3 separate regions of the Homo sapiens genome follow, and regions 2 and 3 are each linked to region 1. The links are contacts of gene promoters, found by promoter capture Hi-C in human tissues and cell types (Jung and others, 2019). All regions are on one chromosome and are shown on one strand. Each heading gives the region's core, a stretch centred on a gene start or on the middle of the fragment in contact. The rest is flanking DNA. Distances are from core to core; before and after follow the strand shown. Region 1 holds the start of ZNF773 (zinc finger protein 773). Region 2 holds the start of ZNF837 (zinc finger protein 837). Region 3 holds the start of ZNF471 (zinc finger protein 471).

Evidence for each region. Contacts are between HindIII fragments. The study calls those that stand out against the background at their distance.
Region 2: a contact is called between the fragment with the promoter of ZNF837 here and the fragment with the promoter of ZNF773 in region 1, in 1 of the 25 tissues and cell types used here (spleen).
Region 3: the fragment with the promoter of ZNF471 here is called in contact with the fragment with the promoter of ZNF773 in region 1 in 1 of the 25 tissues and cell types used here (adrenal gland).

What each region holds. Positions count from the first base shown.
Region 1 is chr19:57,498,250-57,501,989 of GRCh38, reverse strand. ZNF773 (zinc finger protein 773) reads right to left here and starts at 2,052. Exons shown (of 4, transcript NM_198542.3): 1 at 1,877-2,052. The coding sequence starts at 1,909. The HindIII fragment of the contact is 9,164 bases long and covers 1-3,740 here.
Region 2 is chr19:58,379,509-58,382,894 of GRCh38, reverse strand. ZNF837 (zinc finger protein 837) reads left to right here and starts at 1,865. Exons shown (of 3, transcript NM_138466.2): 1 at 1,865-1,954. RefSeq lists a silencer at 1,604-2,113 and enhancers at 2,464-2,523, 2,058-2,599, 2,554-2,783, 2,600-3,141. The HindIII fragment of the contact is 47,170 bases long and covers 1-3,386 here.
Region 3 is chr19:56,505,726-56,509,120 of GRCh38, reverse strand. ZNF471 (zinc finger protein 471) reads right to left here and starts at 1,266. Exons shown (of 5, transcript NM_020813.4): 1 at 1,201-1,266. The HindIII fragment of the contact is 4,462 bases long and covers 1-2,758 here.

The sequences.
Region 1 (3,740 bases), core at 803-3,302:
GCCTGGGCAACAAGAGCTAAATTCCGTCTCAAAAATAAATAAATAAATAATAATATGTAGTCTGGACTCAGGACCCTGACTGTATGACCATTTTGCAGGGAACTCAAATGGAAGGGGAGGGAGAATAGCCAGCAAGGAGTCCCAAGACACCATAATTCTGAAGACCATGTAGGTAGGAGTTGAGGAGGGTGAGGGCCTGAGACATCCTCCACTTACCTTCTCATGGTCTATAACTAACTCTGAAGTCACAAGAACCTATGGAAAATCAAGACCATGAGAACCAGACAGTGATGTTACCAAAGGATCATCCAAGCCCCCTCGTCTAGCCTGGAGTCAGGTGTGCCTGACTATCTGCAATCTGGGCTTTGGTTCTTAGTGATGCCTCTTACCTGTTGTGTGCCCTTGGAAAAATGCTCAACTTCCCTGTGCCTTGGTATTGCCATCTGCAACATGGCAATAATGGTATTCACTCAATAGGACTATTGTTTGTATCAAACTCATTCTTATGTGTCTAGGACTAAATATCAACTCTTACTGTACACATAATTAATGCTTCTGTCAACATTTTCAGTGCAAATAAACTGGTAGGTTTTCAAAATGTGGGTTTCTGCCTGGGTGCAGTGGCTCAAGCCTGTAATCCCAACACTTTGGGAGGCCGAGGTGGGCAGATCACAAGAGCAGAATTCTGTCTCAAAAAAAAAAAAAAAAGAAAGAAAAAGAAAGACAATGTGGGTTTCCTTTTGGCAATCTGGCTGCCTGCTATATACTCCCCTGAAGACCATCCTGCTGAGAGCCCTCCCTTCTACTGGAGCAGTTGATCATCCCACCTGTGCTGATAGCTAGGGAAACTTAGGCACCAAAGGTGCTGCTCCACCAGCCTGGCTGACCTTTCCTTTTCTCCATATGGACTGGACATGAGGAACTACTAAGCCTGGAGTGGCAAACCTATATACTACCCAACACTGCGGTCTCCATCCAGTCCTGGGTGTTCATACTCTATAACCCTCCATTCCTGCAGGCACCAGACAAAATCACTTCGGACCACGAAACTCCAGGCTGTAGAGGCTGCCCCATCCTACAGGCCCATCTCTCCCTTCCCTCACCTCAGGGACCATCTGAAAGAAAACTTTAAGATTCTCCCTCCTAAATACGAGCCCCAGGCCTTCCAGCTGCTCATGTGGACATGACACCTCCACTCTGGGACATCTCAGGATCACCATGCCCAAAACCTATTCCCTGCACAGCCTTACCCATCTCCATCCTTCCTGATATTCAGGAACAAACAAAAATACAAATAAAAATCCAGAATGGCTCTTCATTCCCTACTTTCTTTCACAGTCACATCTGATGCAACAGGAATTCCCGTCTGTTCAGTTTTTGAAATCCATCCAAGATCTGATCACTTCCCCTCCTCTGTGGCCCAGTCCCAGTAGACTCTCCACTAGTCTACTGAATTTACCTACTCACAGGTCTGTCTTCACCCGCCTCACCCCCACCCCAGTCTGTTTTGACTTGAAGGGCCTTTGGCAAACTTTGAGAAACAGATCTTGTCACTCTTCTGTCTCCAGCCCTCCGCGGCCACTGTGGCCCCCTCAGGATGAAAGCGCAGCTGCTCGGGCTGTCGCTCGACACGCGCCTCGTCCCTTCCCAAGCTGCCCACTACAGACACCAGGAGGCCTCAGGTTCGGGACTCGCTGAATGCGCCTCACATCTTTGCGAGCCGGGCCCCTTGCCCTCCATTGCCACCCCATCACACTGCGTGTCAGAAACGGGACGCCGCCCACGAACGCCCCACAGTTCTGCACCCGGGGACCTGAGCAGGCGGCCCTCACAGGGCTTTAGGATTCGGGGGAGGCCGGGAGGACGCGGCGCTCACCTGAGCGGGGTCCCTCAGCGTGGCCGCCGCCATCGGAGCCTGTGGCGGTGAGACAACGACCGAGGAAAGGGCCCGGGCCACCCTGGGCGCCGCCACCGAGCCTCAGACCCGCCTCTGAGCTGCGAGAACACAGCGCGTCCCCACCGCGCTTTCCGGAGCTGGTCGCCGCAGCGAACAACCAGCTTCCGGCAAGCTGAGTTCTCTTGAGGGCAGCGAAAGCAACCGCCGAGGGGAGACGCCGGAAGTCCCGCCCATTGCGCGTCGCACTCTCGGGTAGACCTCTTTTCATTGGCCAAGCATCGCGGCTCACGGCGCGGCGCCTTCTGGGCAGTGTAGTTCGCGTGGCTCCAAACTTCGAGGAAGTGGGCATAACTTCGGAGATGGAGATTGGAGACGGTAGATGATGGAGATGGAGATGGAGATGGAGATGATGGAGATGATGGAGATGGAGATGATGGAGATAGAGATGATGATGGAGATGGAGATGATGGAAATGGAGATGATGAAGATGGAGATGATGGAGAAGATGGAGATGATGGAGAAGATGGAGATGATGGAGAAGATGGAGATGGAGATGATGGAGTAGGAGATGGAGATGGAGATGATGGAGATGATGGAGATGGAGATGATGGAGATAGAGATGATGATGGAGATAGAGATGATGATGGAGATGGAGATGATGGAGATGGAGATGATGGAGATAGAGATGATGATGGACATGGAGATGATGGAGATGGAGATGATGATGAAGATGGAGATGATGGAGAAGATGGAGATGGAGATGATGGAGTAGGAGATGGAGGAGAAATGAGTGTCGAGAACTCTCGGACTCATCTGGAACCTGTTGTAATTGGAGATGGGCCTGGATTTCAGTTTCCTGCAGCTGATACTCCAATCTTTCCTTCTTTTGAAGGACTTGAAGAGGATCTTCAGGGCCACCATAAAGAGGTTTCACTGGGCAAAGCCACGTATACCTTCCTAAATTTCCTTTGGCAAGGGGACACCCAATATTAATGCCTGATGTATGATAATAAGAAAAGGCTCTGAATTCTGGATGTAGGTGATGAGAGAGTAGGGGAGCCCAAGGATTTACGTTCCTCTTTCACCCCATTCTCATTTGTGTTCTTTCCTTCCTCAAGGACCCAACATTGGTGTAAAGGCACAACAACAGGCAGCAAACCCATAAGCCAACTCCCCCTCAATTTCTCCCCTTCATCCATTTCTGCTCCATATTCCTGTCACAGTTACTATGGGACTGAACGAAGGGGAACGAATGCAGAAATGAAAACAAAGGCAAAATAAATCTGTTTTAAAGAAGGGGTCAGGGGGCTTCTTGCTTCTAGTGAGGAAGGGCCCTGAGCTTCCACAGACCTTCATATTTATTGGGTAGAAAGAGTAGGGAGGTGGTGGCTTACGCCTGTAATCCCAGCACTTTGGGAGGCCAAGGCGGGTGGATCACAAGGTCAGGAGATCGAGACTATCCTGGCTAACACGGTGAAACCCCGTCTGTACTAAAAAATACAAAAAATTAGCCGGGTGTGGTAGCAGGTGCCTGTAGTCCCAGCTACTCGGGAGGCTGAGACGGGAGAATGGCATGAACCCGGGAGGTGGAGCTTGCAGTGAGTGGAGTTCATGCCACTGCACTCCAGCCTGGGCGACAGGGAGAGAATCCGTCTCAAAAACAAAAAAAAAGAAAAGAAAATATCGCTCTGGTTTTGTAATGATAAAATAGAACCTACATATATTTTGTGTTATGCATTCTTGGCATACCTATTTCAATGAATTCTGGTTTTTTGAAATTGTCTCAAATATTCAAAAATTTTTTCCAGTATATTTATTGAAAAACATTCACATATAATTGGAC
Region 2 (3,386 bases), core at 616-3,115, 880 kb before region 1:
GTGAGAAATCCTACTTGTGTCAGGCCGGGTGCAGTGGCTCATGCCTGAATCCCAGCACTTTGTGAGGCCGAGGCGGGTGGATCATGAGGTCAGGAATTCAAGACCAGCCTGGCCAAGATGGTGAAACCCCATCTCTACTAAAAATACAAAAATTAGCCGGGCGAGGTCGTGGGCACCTATAATCCCAGCTACTCGGGAGGCTGAGGCAGAGAACTGCTTGAACCTGGGAGGCGGAAGTTGCAGTGAGCTGAGATCGCGGCCACTGCACTCCAGCCTGGGCAACAGAGCAAGACTGTCTCAAAAAAGAAAAAAAAAAAGAAATCCCACTTGTGTCCCAATTGGGGCCAGTGGCTGAACCTGTCAGACATCTGCACACCCACACAGAGCCAGCAGCTGCACTCCTTTCTCTGTGACAATTGTCAAGGCCTTCCTGTGCAACTCTCTTCAGCCACCAAGGGACCCACAAGGCGGGCAGCCCTCCAAGTGCCCTTCAGCCTCCTGCTCGCCCTCAATTAGCTTGGTAAGCCCTGAGTTTTGTACTTGGGCAGGGAGATAGACCTCCTGACAAGGCTTTCGATGTGCAGACACCCAAAGGATGGAGAAAGGGAGTGGAACAGTCCCAGCATCCCTGAAGCAGATGCAGTGGAGGCAGAAAGGTGGGGCAAACTGGGTCGTTACATGCAATATATGTGCTGGACTGGCCAACAAAATTAGATGTCCCTATTGAGGGCAGGAGCCACACAATAGATGGGGGCAAGAGCTGGGGGTTACAAATGGGTAGGAGGCGTGACCAGTTCATCCTACCTGGGAGGGCCCGTAGAGTCAGCAACACCCAAAGGGGCTGGGGAGGCTGTGGTTCCCCAATGGGGCCGCACGTGTTAGAATCAACTAGGAGCCGGACTAGGGGCCTGGCGCAGTGGCTCAAGCCTGTACTCCCAGCACTCTGGAAGGCTGAGACACGAGGATCGCTTGAGCCCAGGAGTTCCAGACCAGTCTGGGCAACATATGGAGACCCTATCTCTAAAATAAATAAATAAATAAAAATAAAAAAACTATCCAGGCATGGTGGCTCCCACCTATAGTCCCAGCTATTCGGGAGGGTGAGGTGGGAGGGTCGCTTCAGTACAGGAGTTCGAGACCAGCCTGGGCGACATAGTGGGAGGAGGAAGGGAGGGGGAGAAGGAGGGGGAGGGAGAGAAGAAAGAAAATTAGCCGGGCGTGGTGGCGCGCGCCCCTGTTAACAGCTACTCTGGAGGCTGAAGTAGGAGGATCGCTTGAGCTCAGGAGGTCGAGGCTGCAGTGAACCGTGATGGTGTCACTGCATTAGCCTGGGCGACAGAGCGAGACCCCGTCTCAAAAAAGCAAACCAAAAAAAATACAAAAAAATAGACTTAACTGAGGAGTTTTGACGCGCATATGCTCGGGCCCAGTCCCAGATTCTGATGTTATCGGTCTGACTCGCAACGCGCTCACCAAGACACTTCAGAGCTCCCCAGGTGCTTCCCAGCCCAACTCTCCCACCCGAGGGGAGCCTGCGAACCGCAAGTCGGTTCCGGGTTGGGACCTCTTAGAAATCAGATTGGGAGAGGAGGCTATCAATCATAATCATGACCAGTCACCCGCTTTCACGAGAAGGAATGGGCGGGACCCTACGTCCCCGTCCAGAACGCCGTTTCTTTGGCGACGACTTAGGTCCACGCCCCGCCTTTTAGGTGTAGCCGGCCTCTGTTTCTATGATAACCGAAGCCCAAGCCTCTCCCTACACCGCTTTCTCCGCAGCGTCAAAGCGGGACATGACGGGACTACGTTTCCCAGCAGTCCCCGCGCGGGTTCCCGCCTGCGCTTGCTGTGGCCCGGGTCCCTCAGTGCCGCGGCGGCCCGGAGGTGGCGGGAGGACGGCTCCGCGCTGCATGCGGGGCGGGGACCAGGGACCCGTGCGGGCCGCCTCCAGAGAGTAAGTGGCATTCTGCGCGGACCCGCAACCTCGGCCTGCGAGGCGGGGACCTCCCGGCGCATAGCGCGGCCACCACCCCAGTCCCCTCTCCACCTCCGCGCGCGGGGTCCGGGGCAGAGGCGTGACGCCGCGCACTTCCGGTCCTCGCGCTCCGGGTCCGGACCGGCCACACAGCACTCGCGACCTTGAGTTCCGGGCGGGACGGGCTTCTGTAGTTCTGGCCCCCGCGTTTCCGTGCTGGGTGTCATTGAAGCCCGCGAGGGGAGGCTCCAGGCCCGGGACCCATCCTGGCGGCCTGCGGCTCTCGGAGTCAAGCCCACCTGCTAGCCGAGGCCGACGCCGGCCTCCCTACCGTCTCTGCCCCCGCATCCTGGCCTTTGCACTTTGCTCTTTCCTTGTCTGCAGACCGGTTTCATGCCCCCTCTTCACAGAGGCCCGAAGAATCCGCTGCCTCCCTCCCTGGCGCCCTCGCGCTGCTCCCTGTCTGATGTTCTTCACGTCTTTTTCTCTCTTAAACGGTCTCTTGTTCATTTCTTCTTGTCTGCGGTCCCCTCCTTCACTCACTATTAGAGCAGGATGCAGCACCGTTTGGCCCTGACACAGTGGATGTCCTGCGAGGGTTGAAGCTTGCTAATCCTTGAGGGTGGAGGCACTGTCGGGAGGACAGACACAGAAGGGAGCTGTGCCTGCACTCAGAGGACATTTCTTCTGCTGTACAGTGCATGATGCACTGTTCTTCCCATTGCGTGCACAGTGTAGAATTGGACATAGGGGCTAGAGTCTGTGTCCCCTGGGACTGTCAGTGTGGGTGAGGTTGGTCTGTGGCTCAGAGAGGTGGAGCCACGCTGAGCTGGGCACTAGCCTGTGTCCTCCACACCTCAGAGCCACCAACGTTGACTTCCCTGCACATTCTGTTTTTGTTGTTGTTGTTGTTGTTGTTGTTTTGAGACGGAGTTTCGCTCTTGTTGCCCAGGCTGGAGTGCAGTGGCGCGATCTCGGCTCACTGCAACCTCCGCCTCCCGGGTTCAAGCGATTCTCCAGCCTCAGCCTCCCGAGTAGCTGGGATTACAGGCATGCACCACCGTGCCTGGCGACTTCCCTGCACATTCTCTTGGGCAAATAAGACCTCATTGTGCCGTGTGCAACCTCCATGAGGATGTTGAACCTCACTAGCTTTCCTGTGTGTGCTGTTGCTCTGCAGTTCTGCAGGGCTCAGCCTTGGCCACGTTAACCTCTCAGTCCCCCTAAATTGGTAACTCTGCATCCTGTTCCCAACACCAGAAGCCCTAAGGACAACTAGAAAGGCTGGGCGAGCACCCAGGTGCAAGCATGCTCACCTGGGGCAGGTGGGAGGTCACTGTAAGAACAGCCTGGGAGAGCTGTAATGCACCATCAAGGACGGGCTCCTGGGACCTGGGACCCAGAGCCTCGA
Region 3 (3,395 bases), core at 17-2,516, 990 kb after region 1:
TTACCGTGATCAACCTACAGGCTGCCAGCCCACCAATCATTAGCATGCAAAAAGACACTTAATACTTTGGAGATTCCAAGGATCTTAGAAGTCGTAAGCCAGGAAACATAACTTTGTCCTATACTTTGATCGCCTCCCTCTCTCTCACAAACTCATAACAACATAACCTAGTCTCACTCTTTGGACTCTCACAGTTTAGTCTCTTTCTCTCTCTCATACACACACACCAGCCTCTCAAGGAGCCTCACATAATGACTGGTCTTTCACACACAGCCACGTGCTCATCTCTCTCACACTCACTGGTCTCACGCTATGTTGTCTCTCACACACGAACACACCCTGGTCTCACACTCTGGTCTCTCTCAGTCTGTCAGACACACATAACACGGCCTCACACACTGACGGGTCTTTCACCCAAAACACCCATTTCTCACACTCACTGGTCTCCCTTTCACACATTAACATACCACAGTCTCACACTCTGTTCTTGCACAGTCTAGTCTCGCATACATGGTGATTCTTCTCTCTCTCGAACACACACCGGCCTCTCATTGAGCCTCACCCACCGACCGACCGGCCTTTCACACACAGGCACACGCCCATCTCTCACACTCACTGGTCTCTCACACTCCATCCAGCCCGTCTCACTCTCTCACACGAATACATCCTGGTCTCACGCTCTGGACACCTGGTCTGTTACACACTTACACACCCACACACCTCGCAACCTCTCACTGAGCTTCACACGCTCTCTTTCAAATGCAGGCACATCCCTATCTCTCTCACACTCACTGGTCTCTCACACTGGCCCGTCTCGCTCTGTCACACACGAACATACCCTGGTCTCACACTGGACTCTCGGTCTGTCACACACACACACACACACACACAGAAACCACACCCTCTCACGGAGCCTCACACTCTGACAGATCTTTTACACACAGGCACACCCCCATCTCTCCCACAGCTCACTCCAGTGGTCCCGCCGCCCCAAGCCGCCCCGAACGCCCAGCAGCCCCGAGCCGCGGCCTCCGCCCCGCAGACTCGAGTACGCGCGCCCCGCTGGCCTCTGGGAAATGTAGTCGTCCTGGGGACAGAGGACGCGGCTGGGCCTTCGCGACCCGCGTCGGAGCCGCCCGCCTCGCCTGCCCTTCCTGGCCCAGCCCTCGAGCTCGGACTCCCAAACCACCCAAAACAAACCCCCGGCCTCGTCTGGCACCCAGACGCTCTCATCCGAAGGACTCCGTGAGTCGACGCTGGAACCCCCCATCGCGCAGGCGCCAGCCTCTCTCCAGGGGTCGGACGAGAGGGGCGGAGACAAGGCGTGGCCTAGTGTTGAGGGGATTGTCCTCGGGCTGCTGAAGGAGTGAGAGGGACCTTAGAGCAGAGCGGGCGGTGCCTGCGCAGTGCGTGATTACGCGAGCCGGGCGTGGCCCAGGGTTCCGGCGGGTAAGAGCAGGAGTGTGCGCAGGCGCAAAGATTGCGCTCTCCCCCTCTCCTCGCCTAGAGACCAGAAGCGTCCCTAGTTACTAGTTCCTGGGGCCTGGGAGGGAAACGCGCGACGGCTGAGCCTTCGGTGTGAGTACGCGTGGGGCTTTGTGACGCTGTCTGTGCCTCTGTGATCGCGATGTCATTCGGAGCGCGGCCTTCTGTGCCAGTCCGTGGGAGTGTCATTATCTTTCTGTGTTAAGCTTATTTTGGAATAAGACAGCGACGAGGAACCCCGACCGTGTTGTGACTCTGGCGAATTAATACCTCTTTCAGCTGCAAATGGGAATGTCACTGATCAGAGGCAGTGAATAACACGACGTTTTTGGAACCAATCTGCTAGGCTTGAACCGCGTTCAGCCCCTTAACAAAATGGAAATGGTCCCCGTTTTAGGGGACTAGCCCTGACTAGGAGAACTGTAGAATTAGTATTGGAAGGTGAGACAAATAAGGAAAAGCAATTCAGGGGGATACAGCAGAGAAAAAAAAATCCCTGTCCTCTTATTATGTAATTTACTTTGAAGCGGAGAGAGACAAGCCACAAATTCATGAGTTAGATAAACAGTCTGATGAACAGTAAAAAGGGCTATGGAGAAATATAACTCAGAGAAGGTTGTATCGTATACATTTTTTCTATTGTCTCTTATAATGTCTTAACATGTCAAAAAAACCTGTCTGCAGCAGACACCAGCCAGGTGACCGCTACTCCAATTCAATTCTGACGCTACCTGGAAAACATCAGATCCTACAGGTTAGACAGCTCAGTCCCAAAAGACTGTCCCCCACTTCCCATGCCAATTCCAAACTCCAGATTGTTGTACCTGTGTTTCAGAGAGATGTGCTATAAATTGGGGCTCCCACAGCCGGCTCCTTGGGTTCCATTAGTTTGCTAGAGCAGCTCACAGAACTCAAGGAAACACTTATGTTTACTGGTTTATTATAAAAGATATTTTAAAGGATACAAATAGCCAGATGAAGAGACATGTAGGGCAAGGTCCGAGAGAATCCCTAGTGCAGGAACTTCTGTGCCCGTGGAGTTGGGGTGCACCACCCTCCCAGCACGAGGATGTGTTTTTGTCTACCTTCTTGGAAGCCGCTTGAACTCAGGCCTTTTCGGTTTTCAAGGTTTCATTATGTAGATGTGATTGATTAAATCATTGGCCACTGGCGATCAACTTAATTTTCAGGCTCTCTCTTTTCCCAGAAGTAGAGGGTGGAGCTGTGAGTTCCAGTCCTCTGAGCACATGGCTGGTTCCTCTGGCAACTAGCCACCACTCCCCCCAAATATTGGGATTATCTTGAGAGTTTCCAAAAATCACCTCATTAACATAAACTCATGTGTGGTTGAAATACTGTCTTTCACCTTTATGGCTCTGGAGCTGTTCTGGAGCTTTTTCAGGAACCAGGAACAAAAGGCCAGATATTTTAACAAAAGATACTTTATTGCTGCAGTCATTTAGGAAATTAAAAGAGCTGTAGGAACTGAGAGCCATGAACTGTACCTTTCTTTCTAACTCCACATTCAGTGATGTCATATTGGTAGATTGAAATCCACCACAAGGGGACTATTTACAGTATGGAAATACAGTCTACATCGCTAAAGGATGGAGATACATTCTGAGAAATGGGTTCTTAGGCAATTTCCTAAGAACCTTGTTGTGCAAACATCATAGAGTGTACTTACACAAACCTAGATTGTGTAGCCTACTACACACCCACACTCACTCAGACTGGGACAACTTAGACATACCAGTTAACTTACTGTGCACATCTTTGGGATGTGGGAGGAATCTGGAGTACCCAGAGAAAACCCATGGAGACATGGTGAGACTAGTCAGATTGCATTAGGACCCACCCTAACGACCTCATTTCAACTTAATTAACTCTGTAAAAATCCTATATCCAAA